Regions from separate parts of the Homo sapiens genome. Here region 1 is linked to region 2. The links are contacts of gene promoters, found by promoter capture Hi-C in blood cells and fetal thymus (Javierre and others, 2016). All regions are on one chromosome and are shown on one strand. The core of a region is centred on a gene start or on the middle of the fragment in contact, and the rest is flanking DNA. Distances in the headings are between cores, read along the strand shown.

Region 1 (5,120 bases), core at 557-3,056, 190 kb before region 2:
AAGGCAATACTGAACTATAAAGTAAATAACAGAAAACACAAAAACATTCAACATTCTGGTTTTTCCTATGAAGGCTGCTGCAATACTTTTTTGAATTATTTAATATCAAATTGTTTTAGTGAATCTCTTTTCCCAATATCAAAATTATTAGGCTGTGTCATATGAAACTGTCATTTTTGTAGGTCAAAAGTTGTCAAATGTTAGTGATTTCTTTTGGTTACACCTAATCTAATCTGCCTATTGGTAAGGTCAGTCCTGAATACATGGACATTTGTGAGCCTCTGTGCTTTTCTGATTTCCTATCCCATTGGTAAGTAGTTTCCCTTAAAAGTAAGAAAAAGAACAAACATACAGAGATAGGGAGGAAGAATATTTTTATGACCATCATCTTTCTTTGTAAGCACCACACATTCTTTGTTTTTCTAAAAATATGAGGCAATTTCAAATCAGACTTAGTGCTAGATTTATAATATTTTCCACTTATTCTGCCATCTCTTTAAGAATTTCCCTAACTGGGAGGATGGGAGGAGAGACTTCCCATAATTCCTTGCCCATCCAACTGCCTGCCCTGGTCCCCGCTTGCCAAATCCTTTACTGTGGTTTTCTGATGTGAGCTATTATCCTTGAGAGTCCCAGAGCTGAGACGTGAACTCCGTTTCTTGGAGGGCTCAACCAGAATTCCCTAAAGTGAAAGCTCAGTCTTTTACCCACGAAGCTCCTTCTTTTTGTAGTTAATCAACTGGCTAAATCCTCTGAAGTGAAAAAATGCACATTTTGTTGTCTGTGACTTACTGAAGCTGAATGCTTCTCACAATGGCAAAGTCCATGAAACAACTATATATTAGGGATGAGTGATTTCTCACACTTAATCTGTTTCTATCCAAGACTGCCAAGTTGGTCCACTGGGCCTTGGAACTGCGATATCACATTTCCCACATTTCTTGCCTTTTCTTCTACTTGTGCTCCATTATTTATTAAGGCCTTGAGTACACCTGGGGTTTGTCCCCAATGGGGGTCAGACTTTTCAGGCCCTCCCTCATTCTCAGAAGTTGGATTTTTATAAGGGTGTGAAAGACTTCTACCCCTGCAGTTCCACAATTGGGCTGTTATTAAGAATAGAAATAGAGACACGAAAGCTCCACTGAGAGAAGTTACTTCCAAGACTTGAGGTCCACAGGCCAATATGCCACCTTTTAAGATTTATTTTCTTCCTACTCTGTGTTATGGCAAAGTCTGATCAATCGTGTGTCTCTCTCCATTAAGACACTTTCGCTTGCAAGTAATAGAAAACTTACAGGGATTCCTCCTCTCCCCCTATTCCTCGCAAGTCACTTTAAAATCCAGGGGTAAATTAGTGTTTCTGGAATAGCTGGACACAGAGGTCAAAAATTGTCATAAGCCCTCAGGTTCTCCCCATCTCTTATTTTTACTTTTTTAAAATTCACTTCTCTCTCTAGCAGTGTAGCAGAAGCTGTCCGTTTTCTACACATCATCCTCATACACCTTAACCTAGCAATGCTTTCTCTTCTGAGAGATAGCACCTGTGCTTTGCCTTCATGCTCTAAAGCCAATATTGGCAAGTACTGCCCTGAATGCTAGAATAGCCTAGGAATTTAAGTTCTCCAGGGGTAGACCTTAACCAATGACTGGCAGGGGCAGAGTTCCCTGATGAGAACAACTTCACAGTTGAGATTGGCCCCAAAGCTTTCCCACCTCCCTCAGAACTTAGCCAAAGCTGCCATTTATGGGGCTTTTCTTGATATTGCATCCTTGCTTGGTCTCCCTGCTTTCCCAATCTGACTCCCATATCTCCCTCAGATTTCCCTGGAAACAAATCTTTGTATTAGGGAATCCCACCAAAGACAGGCAGATTCCTTTTCCCTGTTCATCCCAATATTTCAAGCTTACCTCTTTCCAGCCTAAAATCCAAAGCTATTAAAGCAAAAGTCCCTTCACTTAATCTAATTTGACTTTGATTGCCTTGGCTCAGGTACTCACCCTAAGTCAATAGTAGTTGACACAAGGAGGCATACCATGTTTGTCCAGCTCTGAATGACATGTCCTCCCCTGGATTTAGAGGAGAGGGCTTTGACATTTGTGACATTTGCGAGCCTCTGTCCCTGAACCACACAGACTGGGTAGTAGAGCTGGTGGTATAGGGGTCATTCTGGAGGAAAATGGGGCCTCTTATTGGAAAAACAAGACATGGATGCTTCGAGACAATACAGCAAGGGTTAGCAAACTATAGTCCACGATCCCTGTTTTTGTAAATAAAGTTTTACTGGAATATCATCACACTCATATGTTTATGCATTATATACAGCTACTTTCAAGAACCACAGCAGAGTTGAGTAGTTGCCACAGATAATATATGGCCTGAATAGCCTAAAATATTTATTATCTTGTCTTTTGAAGGAAAAGTTTTCTGACCCTGAACTATGCTATTATTTTGGAATGCACTCTGATGTCAGTTTGTGGCACATCCTAAGGAAAACACCGAGAAGTAATTCATTGGTATCATCACACTTTTAGTCAGTTTTAAGCTGTTTTCTGCAGGCCTCCGAATTAAGGGAGAGCTAGATATGCCGCAGTGATTGGCAAACTGTGCCTCCTGACACCCTGGGTTTCCTAGGGAGGTCTTGGGGAGCAGGGCACTGCAGAGTGAGGGAAGGCCCCTGACACAGGGCTCCCAGAGCCCGGCCCCATTTCACATTTATCTGTTTACCCAGTGTATTAAACATGTGGGGCTCATGGGTTGTGAAGAGAGAGACAACTTTGCTTTCGTCTCTCAGTCTTGTTCCAGGAGAATAGCCTTTTTCCGCCTCTGGATGCAAAGTAAGGCAGTCACATGACTTTTCTGTTAATTCTTACATACTGGAAAGTCCTATAGTCATCGTAAGTCACAAACAGTTTTAATTGAGAGATTAAAGTGTGGACTATCAAGTCACATTTGAACAAAGATGAGGTTTCTAACCCCACCCACCAGCCCACTACTGCCTTCAGGGAAATGAGTGTGGTCAGCCTCTTCCCCTCTTCTCACTCTCCAAGTGCCCCTCACACTCGTTCTTGCTCCTGGCGTCCTCCCCTGTCCAACTCCTCATGGGAACAGAGAGGAGGGTGAAGACTTAAGGGGACAGGAATGCTTTGACTCACCTGCGATTCGCATAGCTTTGTGTTCTCCAGGCCTCACTGGAATTCAAAACCAACCTTTTCCCTCAAGAACCACTTTGTGTGCCTGCTTTGGAAACTTCTCAATATTGGGAATATTTTTAGGTTCAATTCTGGGCAAGGACCTACAAATATAAATGTAAGAAGTACCTCAGACAAGCAGGACAAATTAAATGTAATAAGAAAGCACCTTTATTTTATTTTTATTTATGTATTTATTTATTTGAGACAGGGTTTCTCTACTGTCACCCAGCCTGGAGTGTAGTGGTGCGCTCTTGGCTCACTACAACCTCTACCTCCCAGTTTTGAGCGATTCTTCTGCCTCAGCCTCCCGAATAGCTGAGAGTACAGGCACCTGCCACCATGCCCGGCTAATTTTTGTATTTTTAGTAGAGACAGGGTTTCACCATGTTGGCCAGGCTGGTCTCGGAACTCCTGACCTCAGGTGATCTGCCCACCTCAGCCTCCTAAAGTGCTAGGATTACAGGTGTGAGCCACTGTGACCAGCCTCATTTTTATTTTTGTCTCTTGCTGTCCCTTTAAAATTTATTCTGGGGAGGACATTCTTTCCCAGTGACTAGATAAAAACTGACTGAATATTGTGCCTTTTCTGGTCACACAATTAATAGAAAATTCTGCAGTTACCTTATATTACAACCTCATTTCAATAATTAAAATAATTAAAAATTATTAAGTAATTTTAATAATTTAATAATTTTAAAAATAATTAAAAATAATTTTAATAATTTAATAATTTTAAAAATAATTTAAAATAGTTAGAATTATCTAATCCCTTTAACAAAACTCCAAATTTAACTTAGTCTTCTTTGCTCACTCTTCCTTGCTTTACTAATCTCAGTGTCTGACTCTTCCAAAGCTGGAGTCTGGGGAGAAAAGAAATGAAAGGTGAGCAGAAATAATTTTGCTTGACTGATATGAACATAAAATGGTTAGACATTTAAAGAAAACTTGCTCCTAGGCAAATTCACAGCTTCTTTGTAGTTTCCCCTGCTGATCCCCTCTAATTGACTCTACTTGGTCCAGGGTCAGGATTTGGCATACTATTGCAGGCCGACCAAATCCCACCTAGTGCCTGTTTTTATAAATAAAGTTTCATTGGAACATAGCCATGCCCATCCTCTGACATACTGTCTATGCTTGCTTTTGTGTGACGATGACTGAGCTGAATAATTGCAACAGAGACTCTGTGGCCTACAGAGATTAAAATATTTATTCTCTGAGCCTTTACAGAAAAAATTTTTAACCCTTGCCCTAGGCTGTACTTTTCCTTTGACTGACTACTCCTGAAACCCCCTCAGTCAGGTTTGTAAACTATTGGGGTCCCCTTCCCTAACAGGTCATCCTCTAGGAAATAATCGCTTTAAAAATGACTCCAGGTCCCATTCCTCCCATGAATTCCTCATCTAGTCTCTGAAATTCACACTCCTTAACTGCCATCAGGGAGAATGCAATTTTTCCCCACTGTACCCTAAACCCTCTTGCCTCAAGCTGTGTTAGAACTCCCAGGTAAATTGTTCCACCGTGGCCCCAGCTGCTAGGATAGATATGAAGCACTTTGAGTGATCCAGTGACAGCCCCTCTCTCTAGCTCAGGATCAGAAGATAGCACAGCACACTCTTCCACTTTGGGGAAAGGTGGTTGGAACTCCATAGCTATTTCCAATAAAAATCCTTCTATACAATCCATCCAATTTCCCACAAGTAGTTCCTTTCATATATTTAATCTGAATGAGACATTGTTGTGGGTTGGATTCCCTAGAAGCAGAGTCTGAGATATAAATTCCTACTAGGGTTGCCAGATAAGATATAATATCCCAATTAAACTGGAATTTCTGATTAAACACTGAAGGATTTAGTATGAGTATGTCCCTAATATTGCATAGGACACATTTATATTAAAATATTATTTTTTATGTATCTGAAATTCAAATT
Region 2 (5,378 bases), core at 466-2,965:
GATGTTGGTGCTGCTGTGGTTGGAAAACTGGGTTGGAAAGCTTCGCACTGTTCTACACTTGCGTGTGCGCACTCAGCAATCCTTTGGCCATCTCATCTGTTGTGGGCGAAGAGTTTCCCGTGTGATCGCGTTCGGTTGGGGAAGCAGAGTCCCGACATCTCAGCCGGAAAATGCGCTCCCGGAGCGATTACTGGCGGCGTCTGTAATTGCTTATTAACAGCGAATATTCAGGCTTCTCCTTATCCGCAACGAAACGTGCCCCCCGCTTCCGTAATAATGAAACGATAAAATATGACGGCCCCGCTCTTGAATCTATCTGAGGAAACGCAGCGAAGAAACAAGCAGCTGGAGTTTAATTCAATATCAAACTGATTATTTCACTAATTATTCTACCTTCTGTATTTGCCGCAGAGCAGAGGCGCAGGGAATCCTAACTGTGGGGCTGTTAGGGAAGCTTTGTTTCTTGGTGTCAGGCCTAACTGAAGATGGTGGTGAAGGGACGGAATCCGGGATCAGGAAAACTGAGCAGAAAGGATTTTAAATTGTGGGGAATAAAAGTGACTGTCTCCCCGAAAGCAGTTGTGTTGGCGTGAGTATGAAGTTGGTGTTAGCTCGCTTAGTTTCACTCTTGTCCTGTCCCCAGTACCCTGTCCAAGCTTCTGATTTAGAAGCTGAGAGCTTAGGTCCTCCAGGATGGCAATGTGCTCTGGCCGTCCCCGGAATCCCAAAAGCTTAGCGCGAGTTTCCTCTCTACAAACCTTTCCCACTGGGTAAAAGGATGGGAACAAACAAAAAGTGGTTCTGTGCGTTGAAGGCCAGGGAGTTTGCCTTCGACAAGAGGAAGGTGTGCTTTGAAGTTACAGCTTCCGACGAGGAAAGAGACTTCCTTGGGCCTGTCTCCAACTTGCCCCAGTTTCCCCAGCCTCCGGGACGGGCGCTTCCCTGCAAGCTATCAGCTTGAAGAGTCTTTCTCTCTCTGGCCTCTAAAATCTGCTCCAGCCATCTCATTCCTCCAGCGGAGGGCTGAGATGACTAATGCGCCAAGGGTGGACACCGCTATGGAGACCCCAAACTTTGTCCCCCTAAATTCCGGCGAAATTACAGACACCAGGATTGATTATCACAGCGGGACGCAGTCTCAAAAAAAAAAAAAAAAAAAAAAAAAAAAAAAGGAAAAGAAAGTCACAGGCGACTTGATCCAATTAGTAAATGCCTAATTGAATTAGTGTCACCTCCACCAGCCAATAGGAGGGTCTCCGGGCTGTGAGGCCGGGAAGCCCCTCCCTGGCCGCAAATATATAAAGCAGCTAGTGACAGCCCATAAGTTTCCAAGTGGTCAACTTGACCGATGCTTTGGCAATTGAAAAAGGGCAGAAAGGCGCGGGCTAGTGGGTGGATGGGGACAAAGATCTAAGTCACCTTCTTCCAGCGTGTGAGCCTGGGAGGAGGGTGGGGGTCCTGAGGAGCAAGAGGTACGAGGAAGGAAAAGGAGAGGGCTTCTGGGTTAGTTTCCACCTCCTGCTTTCCAACTCACGGCGCTTTCCTTCCGGAAAGGACGCTGGATTCAGGGCGCGCCAGTACGCGCAGTAGCGGCCCGCGAGTCGGCAGGTGGGTAGCCCCGGCGCGGGAGGAAGGGGAAGTTACCTTCCCCTCGGAAGAGGGCGCTGGCTCCCCCATCCTGCCTTTATAATAAGGCCACCGGAGGAGAGGAAGCAGCCAGCTGCCGTCTGCGCTTTGCAAAGCATGCAGTTAGGGGAGCAGCTCTTGGTGAGCTCAGTGAACCTGCCTGGCGCGCACTTCTACCCGCTGGAGAGTGCGCGAGGCGGCAGCGGCGGGAGCGCTGGCCACCTCCCCAGCGCGGCCCCCTCTCCTCAGAAGTTGGACTTAGACAAAGCGTCCAAGAAGTTTTCCGGCAGTCTCTCCTGCGAGGCGGTGAGCGGGGAGCCCGCAGCCGCCAGCGCAGGGGCCCCCGCGGCCATGCTTAGTGACACCGACGCCGGGGACGCATTTGCCAGCGCTGCGGCAGTGGCCAAGCCGGGGCCCCCGGACGGCCGCAAGGGCTCCCCCTGCGGGGAGGAGGAGCTGCCCTCCGCCGCTGCAGCCGCCGCCGCCGCCGCCGCCGCGGCTGCGGCCACTGCGCGCTACTCCATGGACAGCCTGAGCTCCGAGCGGTACTACCTCCAGTCCCCCGGTCCTCAGGGGTCGGAGCTGGCTGCGCCCTGCTCACTCTTCCCGTACCAGGCGGCGGCTGGGGCGCCCCACGGACCTGTGTACCCGGCTCCTAACGGGGCGCGCTACCCCTACGGCTCCATGCTGCCCCCCGGCGGCTTCCCCGCGGCTGTGTGCCCACCCGGGAGGGCGCAGTTCGGCCCAGGAGCCGGTGCGGGCAGTGGCGCGGGCGGTAGCAGCGGCGGGGGCGGCGGCCCGGGCACCTATCAGTACAGCCAGGGGGCTCCGCTCTACGGGCCGTACCCTGGAGCCGCAGCGGCGGGATCTTGCGGAGGACTGGGGGGCCTGGGGGTTCCAGGTTCTGGCTTCCGTGCCCACGTCTACCTGTGCAACCGGCCTCTGTGGCTCAAATTCCACCGCCACCAAACTGAGATGATCATTACGAAACAGGGCAGGTGAGCGCAGCGTGGAGGGGCCCCTGGGTTCGGGGATAAAGGGTGACGTGTGGTCCTGGGGAAGGTCCGGGATGAGGGAGCTGAACCCAGTTGTTCCGCGCGGTGCTTAGAGTGTTTCACCGCGCGCAATAAATCTCCGTAGACACCGCATCTCCAATGCGGTGTCCCTCTGTGTCAGTGCCCCGGCGGCTCTTGCAGGGTGCCAATGTTACGGCTGTACACCGCTTTTCCCTCCCATCATCCTCACCTGAACAGACCTGGAGGAGGCGGAAATGGAAATTAGGGCATGTCCACAAGCTGGATTCGTTAGATCCTCCTGCTCGGCGGTATGCTTGTGCATGCCTGCATGCCGGCAAGGAGCCACGGATAGGGAAGGCTCAAGAGCTGGCCACCTGAGCGCAGTAGATGGGCTCCCGCAGTTTTAGGCGCCAGGGTCTCCACGGGGCGTCTCCGGGAGGTGGGCATGAAGGCTAGAGCGCCGGCCTCGGAAGCTCGGTCGGAGTAGGTGGTTAGATCTGCCCTGGAGCCAGACCTGGCTCGGGTTCGGTGCGCGAGAAAGTTCTGATATACATCCAACTGCTAACACTGGCTACTTCTGGGGAAAGGGAGGGGTGGGTGCTGAGAGAGGGGCACTCAAAGGGGACTTTTAGCCTAAAGTTTTAATATATATTTTTAACAAGAATAACCTAATATTGTTCTCTGGTACTTTTCAAAATGGTGCATTTAAAAATTAGTAGTTTTTAACATTCTAGGAGAAAAATTTTAAGAGCGTCTGAAAGGGCCGAGAATATGAGCCTTCGGAAGCACGCGCGAATTTGGAATATACCGATGTTGGGGCAAGCTTTTTTTTTTTTTTTTTTTTTTTTTTTTTTTTTTTTTTTTGAAAAGACGGAAAGGTTCCAAGAGTTGCCAACTCAAAAATATTTTACATAGTTTCAGACCACTTGATCTACCAGCATTCTGTTCACTGCAAACTTTTAAATGTGTTCCGACCCTATCCCAGGTGTCTGGGGAACCCGCTGGGGCCTGGGCCTGTTCTAGGACATCCCAATTAAAATCGATTTTTCTGATTCTATTCCCTTGCACAGGCGCATGTTTCCTTTCTTGAGCTTCAACATAAACGGACTCAATCCCACTGCCCACTACAATGTGTTCGTAGAGGTGGTGCTGGCGGACCCCAACCACTGGCGCTTCCAGGGGGGCAAATGGGTGACCTGTGGCAAAGCCGACAATAACATGCAGGGTGAGCAGAGAAGAGGCTCGGGCCGGGGAGGAACGGGCGGGAAGAAATCGTAACCCTCGACTCACACAACTCACATTTAAATGTAGCACTTTTTTTTTCCCCTTCCATTCTGAGGCCTAGAGGTGTTAGTATGAGTGTCTTTGAGTTGCTTGTTTGACGGAGAGGAGAGTTTGCTAAGTCAGATTTCTTGTCTGCCAATATGTAGATATTTAGAACCTTTAACTAAGACATCACCCCACCCCCCAATCCCTACGTTTAACAAATCAGTAGTCATAAGCTCTCCAGGTGGGAAGGGCTCCTGGGATTCTAATGTTCACTTGAGAAAGCCCAGCCAAAGTTTAGTTCACCCATAAATATCCAACTGTCTTCCATCGGATGTTGCCCTTACAGCTTTAGAAGGCCCCAAATTGACCTTCAAGAGTCATCTCTTGTTAGCTCCGTTTCTAAATTCTGAAATGCCATTCAGGGGAGTCCCTAGTGCAAGGAAGGTTGGAAGCACAGGGGCCTGGGAGGGATATGGATGTAGTCCTGCTGGTCTCCACTGGCCTCTTTAAGCAACTTTTACTGGGAGACCAACTGTAAGTCTAGCTCTTATATCTTGCTCATAGCTAAGAGACATCCCTCCGCTTTCTCCATTTGTAAACAGCCCTATATGCTTGGGTTTTGTGTTTTGTTTCATTTTCTCTTAGGCAACAAAATGTATGTTCACCCAGAGTCTCCTAATACTGGTTCCCACTGGATGAGACAGGAGATTTCATTCGGGAAATTAAAACTCACCAATAACAAAGGCGCAAATAACAACAACACCCAGGTAGAGTGACAGAGCAGGAGGGGATATCTTCTGGCTTTGACTATAAGGCTTTTTTCTAATAAGAGTCCCTACTCTTTTCACTGTATTTATAATATTTGCATTTGTGACCTGTTTGCTCGCCTATTTCTAACCATTTTTGTTCTTTTGACCTTTCTCATCTTCACTTTCTTATTGGATTTCGATAACAGTGAGTTGACTATTAAGAACAGAAATAGCGAAGTATTTTGGGAATTTAGGAAACCAAGAGGAAAGCATATCTATCACAACCACATACCCAGCTATGATTTAAATTTCAAAAAAAAAGGGGGGGGGCAATAATGAGACCTTTAAACTTGCAATAAACAAAGCTGTTAGTGAGGAGCATTTAGAAGTCCAATACCAAAATACATAATTTGTCAAAATCTAATTTTGTTGAACCACTAAGAGGCTTTTTAGATTTAGCAATTTTTTTCTGTACTCTTTCCAGATGATAGTCTTACAATCCTTACACAAATACCAACCCCGACTGCATATTGTTGAAGTTACAGAGGATGGCGTGGAGGACTTGAATGAGCCCTCAAAGACCCAGACTTTTACCTTCTCAGAAACGCAATTCATTGCAGTGACTGCCTACCAAAACACCGATGTGAGTGTCCCAGACATCTCAAGAATCTCTAAAGCTAAGGTCCAGCATGATAAATCACTCAATGACTGTTTTTCT

What was found. Contacts are between HindIII fragments. The CHiCAGO score rates a contact against its expected background, and 5 or more counts as called.
Region 1: a contact is called between a fragment that was not itself captured here and the fragment with the promoter of EOMES in region 2, in 6 of 17 cell types (total CD8 T cells, non-activated CD4 T cells, naive CD8 T cells and 3 more). The highest score is 17.4, in total CD8 T cells.

What each region holds. Positions count from the first base shown.
Region 1 is chr3:27,906,121-27,911,240 of GRCh38, reverse strand. No RefSeq gene overlaps it. Among named protein-coding and RNA genes, the nearest start is that of LINC01981, 75 kb to the right of the region's middle. The HindIII fragment of the contact is 199 bases long and covers 1,707-1,905 here.
Region 2 is chr3:27,718,660-27,724,037 of GRCh38, reverse strand. It overlaps EOMES (eomesodermin), which reads left to right and starts at 1,715. Exons shown (of 6, transcript NM_001278182.2): 1 at 1,715-2,624; 2 at 3,713-3,867; 3 at 4,557-4,678; 4 at 5,145-5,303. The coding sequence starts at 1,744. RefSeq lists a silencer at 2,080-2,289. The HindIII fragment of the contact is 2,734 bases long and covers 734-3,467 here.